2 separate regions of the Homo sapiens genome follow, and region 2 is linked to region 1. Evidence: promoter capture Hi-C in human tissues and cell types (Jung and others, 2019). All regions are on one chromosome and are shown on one strand. The core of a region is centred on a gene start or on the middle of the fragment in contact, and the rest is flanking DNA. Distances in the headings are between cores, read along the strand shown. Region 1 holds the start of RSAD1 (radical S-adenosyl methionine domain containing 1). Region 2 overlaps ACSF2 (acyl-CoA synthetase family member 2).

Region 1 (4,550 bases), core at 299-2,798:
AAGCAATTCTCCTGCCTCAGCCTCCCGGGTAGCTGGGACTACTGGCACGCACCACCACACCTGGCTAGTTTTTTGTATTTTTAGTAAAAACGGGGTTTCACCGTGTTAGCCAGGATGGTCTCAATCTCCTGACCTTATGATCCGCCCGCATCGGCCTCCCAAAGTGCTGGGATTACAGGAGTAAGCCACCGCGCCCGGCTTCTGCCCTGGGCTTTATACCCTGGGGCCATGTGACATGTTGGGCTGAAGTGTTGAAGGACATGCTTTTTCTAGGGGGACTGGAACAGAGCATGGCTGTGCTGGCCAGTCCTTCCTTCCCTCAGGATGTTGCATTCTCTGCACACTCTACAGTTTTATTTATTTATTTATTGAGACAGTCTTGCTCCATCACCCAGGCTGGAGTGCAGTGGCACTGTCTCAGCTCACTGCAACCTCCGCCTCCCAGGTTCGAGGGATTCTCCCTGCTCAGCCTCCCGTGTAGCTGGGATTACAGGTGCCCACCACCACGCTTGGATAATTTTTGTATTTTTGGTAAAGACGGGGTTTCAGCATGTTGGCTAGGCTGGTCTTGAACTTCTGATCTCAAGTGATCTGCCCGCCTCGGCCTCCCAAAGTGCTGGGATTACAGGCGTCTACAGTTATTCTTGAGAACTACAAGCAAGAAAGGAGGGGAGAACCAGGTCAGTTCAAGGCCACTGGGAGAACTGTCCTGCACCGCCTGCCTCTGAAGCCCATGATGTTTCTGCTTTGTGGGACAGTTGTTCAGGTGCCTGCTTCCCCAGGCCTTCCCCTGCGCCTTCCCCCTCTCTCCTACACACACCATCTGACTGTCCTTCCAGCACGTACACCTCCAGATGCTTGGGTTGGCCTGACCCAAAACAGTCTACTCTCCCGGCCAAGCCAATTGCCCCTGGGATTTTCTGCTCCTCCAAGATCCCGTGCATAGCCCTGGTGGTGGCTCATGCCCTTAATCCTTAGTTACTCTAGATGCTGAGGCAGGAGGATCGCTTGAGGCCGAGGAGTTCAAGACCTCCCCTCTCCCAAATATTTGTAAATGAAATTAAAAGAAAGATCCAGCCCAAGTGTCTCTTCTGCCCTACTGACTCCCACACTCTTAAAACAGATGACCTCACAGCACTGAGGCGGACGGCTCTGGTGTCCAGCAGGCACGGAATTAATACGCCTTGCCTGTCCTGGCCGGTTGGCTTGCCTCTCTCCTGCCAGAATGCAACCTGGCTTTATGCACCTAGATGTCCCCAGCGCCCAGTTCTGAGCCAGGCACATCAAATGTCAAGGAATTGACTGAACAAACTAAGAGCTCCTGGATGGGTCCGGGAACTCGCCCGGGCACAAGGTGCCAAAAGGCAAGCAGCCCGCCTCGCGGCCTGGGGAAAGAACCGACAGGAGGCCGCAGTGAGCGCCCGGGCGCCCGGCAGGTGGCGCCGCAGCCCCGGGCCCGGGCCCTCTTGTCGCGCGGTCACGCAGCCCCTCTTCCTTCCGCCGGCTGCGCACTCACAGTGATCCCTGCGCGCGTCTCCTGCTCGGGTCAGTGCGCCGCGCTGCGCTGGGCGCCATGGCGCTCCCCGGAGCCCGGGCTCGCGGCTGGGCGGCAGCAGCCAGAGCGGCCCAGAGGCGCCGCCGCGTGGAGAACGCAGGAGGGTCCCCGAGTCCTGAGCCTGCGGGCCGGCGCGCGGCGCTTTACGTACACGTGAGTAGGGGCGGGGGCGGAGCCCACGGTGTGTGGCCGCAGCCCTGGCCGTGACCGTGGCCGTCCAAAACCCAGGTGGCGGTTTGTCACTCTATGAACCCGCCTGCCGTGTTTCCGTGCCCCCGTACGAGGTCTGGGATGGGACCCTGTGCTTTGGCAGGGAAATGACTTGGTCCAGAAACCTGAAGTCTCTGCTACTCACCGGCTCGGTGACTCTGACCAAATGGTTCAAATTTCATAACAATTTTCCTCTTAGCAAGACAAAATTTTCTTAAGAGCAGTGTTCTGACTCGGTAGCTGGGAAAATGGCTCATAGGAAAATTGTATGAAAATTATATGATCCCAGAAAGAGCTTGGGTTGAATTCCTTCCTGACGTCTGCTGGTTGGAAGAGGCAGCGTAACAAAGGAGTGAGCCTCAGTTTTCTCACATTGAAGTGGATGTAATAACCCCAGTGCGACCTGCCTTGGGGAGTTGTGTGGCTTAGATGTCCTAGCTACTGTGGAAAGACCTCGGGATAGGGGTGGGGGTGGGGTTGGGGGTGTGTGCGACTGAACCCTGGAAGTGGCCAGGGCAGCTCTCACCGCGCACGTGCACTCACTGCCCCCAGTGGCCTTACTGCGAGAAGCGCTGCAGTTACTGCAACTTCAACAAGTACATCCCTCGCCGCCTGGAGGAGGCTGCCATGCAGAAGTGTCTGGTGACCGAAGCTCAGACGCTGCTGCGGCTCAGCGGGGTGCAACGGTGGGTAGTGGGGGCTGTAGGCAGCGTTTTGGGAAATATTTGGAGGAGTGGTGGGGGATAGGTGCAGGCATCCCAGAGGGCTCCCCCAGGTCTCATTTCTCCATTCTCTTTCCCCAGGGTGGAGTCTGTGTTCTTTGGTGGGGGGACCCCCAGTCTAGCCAGTCCCCACACGGTGGCTGCTGTCCTGGAGGCTGTGGCACAGGCAGCCCACCTGCCTGCAGACTTGGAAGTCACATTGGAGGCTAATCCTACTTCAGCTCCGGGCTCCAGACTGGCAGAGTTCGGGGCAGCAGGGGTTAACAGGTTGTCTATAGGCCTCCAGGTAACCCATGGCACTCACCCCATCCCAGTGCACCCCGCCCTTCAGTGCCATCTCCTCTTTGGTCACATTCATTCATTGGGCAAACATTGATTGAGCACCTTCTGGGTGCCAGGGACACAGTAGGGCCTAGTGCGACACTTTTATAACTCCTTAATTGTCTGCTGCTGTCATAGACCACAGACTTTATGAGAAAGGGATCAGGTGTGGCTTTTCTATTTCAAACACTTACCATAGTGCCTGGCACATAGTAGGTGGTCAAAAAAGATTTGCTACATGACACGGGAGACGCAGACATGTAGCCAGATTATTGCAGCATGGTAAATGTCACCTGTAAAGGGGGTCTCTATAAAAGGCTTCTAGAGTACAGCCTGAAGGGAGGTCACTCTGATGAAATCACTGAAACTTCTCTGGAGGAGATGTTTGAATGAAGAGGAAGAGTTCACCAGGTGAGGGGGTGTGGGGGAAACGACACAGGCCATGGAAGAGCCTGGCATGTTTTGGGGGAGTTGTGAGTCATTCCTTGTGATTGGAGAGGCTGGAAACAAGGTTGCAAGGTAGAGTCCAAAACCTTTGGTGCCTACTAAGGAGTGTGGGTTTTGTCCTAGTAATGATAGGGAGCCATTGAAGGTTTTTAAGTAGGGAGAAACCTAGTCGTCTCAGGTTGACCTCCGATATTTCCGTAGGACTTCCGGGTTGTGGGCTTTGTTCTGATGGAATATGCTGACAGAAACACATCACTTCTAAGATATTCTTACCCCAAAGCGCATATCTTGAATCTAATTGTCAGGAAACCCTGAATTAAGAGATTTTTACAAAATTATTGTGGTAAGAACAGACAGCATGAGATCTACCGTCTTAACAAGTTTTTAAATGTACATACAGCACTGTTAACTATAAGCACAGTGTTATACAGCCAATCTGTAGAAATTATTCATTTTAAATAATTCATTTAAATAATTATAATTCGTAAATAATAATAATTTATTTAAATTCATTAAATTATTCATTTTAAACAACTGGCCTGTATTCTTCAAAAATGCCAGTGTCATGAGAGACAAAGAAAGGCTGAGAATCTAAAGGAGACAGAAGAGACAGCTGAATACAATGTGTGGCCCCTGACTGGGGAGGAAGGAGGAAATTACTACAGTAGATGTTATTGGGACCATTAGCCAAATTTGAATATGACAATGTATTATGTAATGGTGTTGTGTCAGTGTTGCATTTCCTGAACTCTGTAATTGGATTGCAGTTATGTAAGAGAATGTCCTTGTTCTTTAGGAAATACACACCTAAGTATTTAGAGGTTAGGGAGTATAATATCTATAACTGCTATTCAATATAGTGGCCACTAGCCACAGACTAGTGAGCATTTGAAATGTGGTAAGTTAAGTTTAATTCACTTAAATTTAAATAACCACATGTGGCTACTACCTATCATATTGGACAGTACAGATATGAACATTTCCACCATTGTAGAAAGTTCTTTTGGACAGTGCTGGTTTATAATTTACTGTTAAATGATTCAGCATAATAACAGGTATGTATGTTTAAAGAGAAACAAATATGGACAAATGGTGAATCAAGATGAAGGTTTTTTTTGTGATTTTCTTTCAACTTTTCTATAGGTTAGAATTATTTAAAATTGAAAAGTAAAGTAAATAAAGACTTGATTTTGGAGTCAGACAGTCCTAAATTCCAGGTCGAACTTTGCAACTGTATGGCCTGGACAAGTTACTTAACACCTCTGAACCTCAGTTTTCTCATCTGTAAAATAGAA
Region 2 (4,550 bases), core at 613-3,112, 33 kb before region 1:
GTATATTTCTCCACATCCTTGCCAACATTCCATATAATCAATAACTCCTGTTTTTATGTTGAAATTCATAGCCATTTTATTAATCTTCTCTACTTGGGGAGTTTTTTTTAGGCCCTATTGAATGCAGCGTGATCATCTAGTGCTCTAGCTTATCTTAAAATAACCTCTCCCACTGATTGCATAAAGCCAGCAAGAACATGAACCTACTTGGGTTACAAGGATTAACTCTTATTTAGCTGCAACTGCTTTCTAGTACTGCTTATGAATATTCTTTGACAAAAGTGCCTATCATGGAAATTTGAAATTAAATATAGACTCCTCTAGAAAGACAGCAATCTTTGGTTTGGGTAGAGGATTACTGATTTGTTCTATTTTCTCTTCTTGTAATGTTTCATTTATTACAGTATCAGACAGGTTGAATTATTTTATATCTATATATAATTTTTGGAATAGCAGCTTTTTGGCCCCGGTGGTGTAATAATCTAGATAAGTGATCAAAAGGAATTGAGTTTGAAATATCAGCCACTGGCTGGGCGCAGTGGCTCACACCTGTAATCCCAGCACTTTGGGAGGCTGAGATGGACGGATCACTTGAGGTCAGGAGTTTGAGACTAACCTGGCCAACATGGCAAAACCCTATCTCTACTAAAAATACAAAAAAATTAGTTGGGCACGGTGGTGCATGCCTGTAGTCCCAGCTACTCCGGAGGGTGAGGCAGGAGAATCATTTGAACCAGGGAGGTAGAAGTTGCAATGAGCTGAGATCGCACCACTGCACTCCAGCCTGGCGATAGTGTGAGACTCCGGCCCAAAAAAAAAGAAAAAGAAATATCAGCTGCTAAAGGATCAGAGACTAGATATCTTCCCCAGCCCCCGAGTTTCTCTCTCTGCAAACACACACACACACACACACACACACACACACTTTTGCCACCATCTGAAAATAAGTTGCAGGCATCATAATATCCATATTTTTCATCTTTGCTTATCTCGTGGGGAACAAATGCCTCATGTTTGTTTTTCTTTGATCTGTGACATGGGCACCTCTTCCTATGCTTACTGGCCATTTGTCTTCCATCTTCTGTGACTTTGTGGCAGATTTGGTCATTATTGTCTTCTGTGTGTAAGTGTCACTTGGTCTGTTTTGGTGGAAAAATGTTTGCAATTAGATAATGTGGCTTTTTTTTGAGAGATTGGGGCTCACTCTGTTGCCCAGGCTGGAGTGCTGTGGCATAATCATAGCTCACTGCAACCTTGAAGTCCTGGGCTCAAGTTATCCTCCTGCCTCAGCCTCCTGAATAGTTGAGACCACAGGTGCATGCCACTACCCCTGGCTAATTTTTAAATTTTTTATAGAGACAGGATCTCACTGCATTGCCCAGGCTGGTCGTGAACTCCTGGACTCAGGGAATCCTCCTGCCTCACCCTCCCAAAGTGTTGGGATTATAGGCATGAGCTACCGTGCCTGACTTACATGAGGCTGTCAATCAACCTTTTTAGCAGCATCTTGGACCAGTTGCTTAACTTTTTCATCTCAGTGTTCTCCATCTTTAAAACAGGAATAAAAGTCCTCATCTCCCACAAATTGCTGGGACAATTTGCCTCGAAAACCTGTATGATTGCATTACAGAGGAGATACTCAGTGTTCCTTTTCTCTTCTGTTCAGATACCCTGCAGATTTACCCATCTCTGCCTTCCTCTCTGAGAGTGCTTATCTTTTCATAAAGCAGAATCATTACATTCCCGACGTGTCATCAAAAGTGTCTACAGGCTGGGCATGGTGGCTCACGTCTGTAATCCCAACACTTTGGGAGGCCAAGGCAGGAAGAATGCTTGAGCTCAGGAGGTCAAGACTAGCCTGGGCAACATAGGGAGACACTCTGACTCTACAAAAAAAATTTTTTTTAATTATCTAGGTCTGCTGGTACATTCCTGTGTTCCCAGCTACTCAGGAGGCTGGGATAGGAGGATCACTTGAAATTGGGAGGTCAAGTCTGCAGTGAGCTGTGATCATGCCACTGCACTCCAGCCTAGGCTTCAGAGCAAGACCCCATCCTATCTTTAAAAAAAAAAAAAAAATTGTAAAGCTGCCCTCTGGATCTTGCTGGAGCCTTGCATTCAGTAAGCCATATTCTAAATGAACAACTATGCATCATCAGCTGCTCTGTGCTCCTGAACCTGTAGAACATGCATCCACATCTGAAACAGGTTGGCAGGGCTAACAGTCACATTGTACCATGACTGTCCAGAAAACACAGCCTCAGGAAGGAAAAGCCTATGACATTCAACATTGGGACTGTTTATTTTCTTGAGTAATTTCTAAGACAGAGATCATGAACAGATGTGTTTTCTTGGCTTGCCCAGCTTTATTTATTAATGTATATATTTTGCACAGATGTGCTATGTGCTGCTTTTATTTTTCTGACAGAATGTTAAATAGGTACTGCAATGTTGCTAAATTTAGTTTATTAATTATGACTACATTGGCAGTAGCTTAAGCCCTAGAAGGTTTTTTTTTTTAAAACTTCGTGTTGAAATATATGACAGATTCAGAAAAGTACACTTTTTTTTGGAGGCAATCTTGGCTCACTGCAATCTCCGCCTCCCAGATTCAAGCGATTCTCCTGCCTCAGCCTCCTGAGTAGCGGGGATTACAGGCACATGCCACCATGCCTGGTTAATTTTTGTATTTTTAGTAGAGACGGGGTTTCACCATGTTGGTCAGGCTGATTTCGAACTCCTGACCTCAACTGACCCACCCACCTCGGCATCCCAAAGCCACCACACCCAGCCAGAAAAGTACACATATTTTAAGGCCCACTTGATGTACTTTTGATAAAGTGAACACACCCATGTAACCAGCACTCAAATCAAGACACAGAACATGACCAGAAACCAGGAGTTCCCTCGTGACCTCTTTAAGTCACTGACCCTCACCAACTGACCATTCTCCTGACTTCTAACAGCATAGATTAGTTTTGCCTATTTTGTACGTATAAATGGAATTAGACAGTATACCTTTTAAAATCTGGCTTCTTTCATTGAACATTGTTTTATGAGATTCAGATTGCTGGGCATAATCATAGTTCCTTTGCTCTCATTATTGTATAATTACAAATAAGTCACCACTTATTTATCTGTTCCATCGTTGATGGACATTTGGGTATTTTAAATATTGGAAATGATACAAATATCCTAGTACCTGTCTTTTGGTGAGCACATGTTTGATTTCTATTGGATATATACCTAGGAGTAGATTATGCACATTATTTTTTAAGTGTACATTCAATGGCTTATAGTATATTCATAGATATGTGTAACCATCACTATAGTCAATTTTAGAACATTTTCATCACCTCACAGAGTTACCCTATGTCCTTGTAGCTATTATCTCTCTGTCTTCCCATCCCTCCCAGCACTAAGCAACCACTTAATCTGTTTTCTGTCTCTATAGAATTACCTATTCTGGACATATATATGGAATCATAGTGTCTTGTATGATTAAAATAAGGATGGCCAGGTGTGGTGGCTCACTCTTGTAATCCCAGCACTTTGGGAGGTTGAGACAGGTAGATCACTTGAGCTCAGGAGTTCAAGAACAGCCTGGGCAACATGGCGAAACCCAGTCTCTACCAAAAATACAAAAATTAACCGGATGTGGTGGTGCGCGCTTAGAGTCCCAGCTACTCGGGGGGTGCTGGGACAGGAGGATCTCTTGAGCCCCAGAGGCAGAGGTTGTAGTGAGCCGAGATCGCGCCACTGCACTCCAGCCTGGGCCACAGAGTGAGACTCTGTCTCAAAATAATAATAATAATAATAATAATGAGATGATCAAAGTATGATTTCACGAGTCACACAGTTTATTGCCATACAAAGAGTTTTTTTCTTTTTTTGTTCACAGTGCTTAAAGCGGGGAGAATAAGAAAACAAATCTCATAGGGAATACACTCAATAGAGGAGGTCCCTTAGCCACATAGTGAGTGAGTTCCAGTCTGTTAGAATCCAATTATTAAAGTCTAATTGCTCACTTAGGATGAAAGCAAGCCTCTGTGGAAAGTAGTCTGACTGACGCTTGAGGCGTACCTTTATAGAGAGATTCTCAGCTAGATGGCTTGACCATCCTAGAGGGTATACCGGAGTTGGTGAAGCTTTGGAAATTAGCTCAAAGGCTGATAGGGTGTGGCCTTAGCTCAGCCTGAGCTTTCACTCTTCAGAGAAGCGCTCAGAGTGTAGCCCTGCCACAGCCCAAGGTCTCAAAGTGTCTGTCAAACTCTTGGGTTTATATGTACAGTCTGGCGTTGCTTAACAACGGGAACACATTCTGAGAAATACATCAGACAATTTTGTCATTGTGCAAACATCATCAAGTGCACTTACACAAATCTAGATGGTAGAGCCTATTACACACCTAGAGCCTGTGCTCCCAGGCTGCAAAGCTGTACAGCATGTTACTGTCCTAAAGACTGTAGGCAATTGTAACACAAGGGTAAGTAGTCGTGTATGTGAACATATCTAAACGTAGAAAAGGTATAGTCAAAATACAATATTAC

The links. Contacts are between HindIII fragments. The study calls those that stand out against the background at their distance.
Region 2: a fragment that was not itself captured here is called in contact with the fragment with the promoter of RSAD1 in region 1 in 5 of the 25 tissues and cell types used here (IMR-90 fibroblasts, adrenal gland, bladder and 2 more).

Annotation. Positions count from the first base shown.
Region 1 is chr17:50,477,312-50,481,861 of GRCh38, forward strand. RSAD1 (radical S-adenosyl methionine domain containing 1) reads left to right here and starts at 1,549. Exons shown (of 9, transcript NM_018346.3): 1 at 1,549-1,708; 2 at 2,318-2,451; 3 at 2,569-2,773. The coding sequence starts at 1,574. RefSeq lists silencers at 1,315-1,804, 2,376-2,762. The HindIII fragment of the contact is 23,554 bases long and covers 1-4,550 here.
Region 2 is chr17:50,443,744-50,448,293 of GRCh38, forward strand. All of the region lies in intron 1 of ACSF2 (acyl-CoA synthetase family member 2), which reads left to right. Among named protein-coding and RNA genes, the nearest start is that of ACSF2, 20 kb to the left of the region's middle. The HindIII fragment of the contact is 8,957 bases long and covers 1-4,550 here.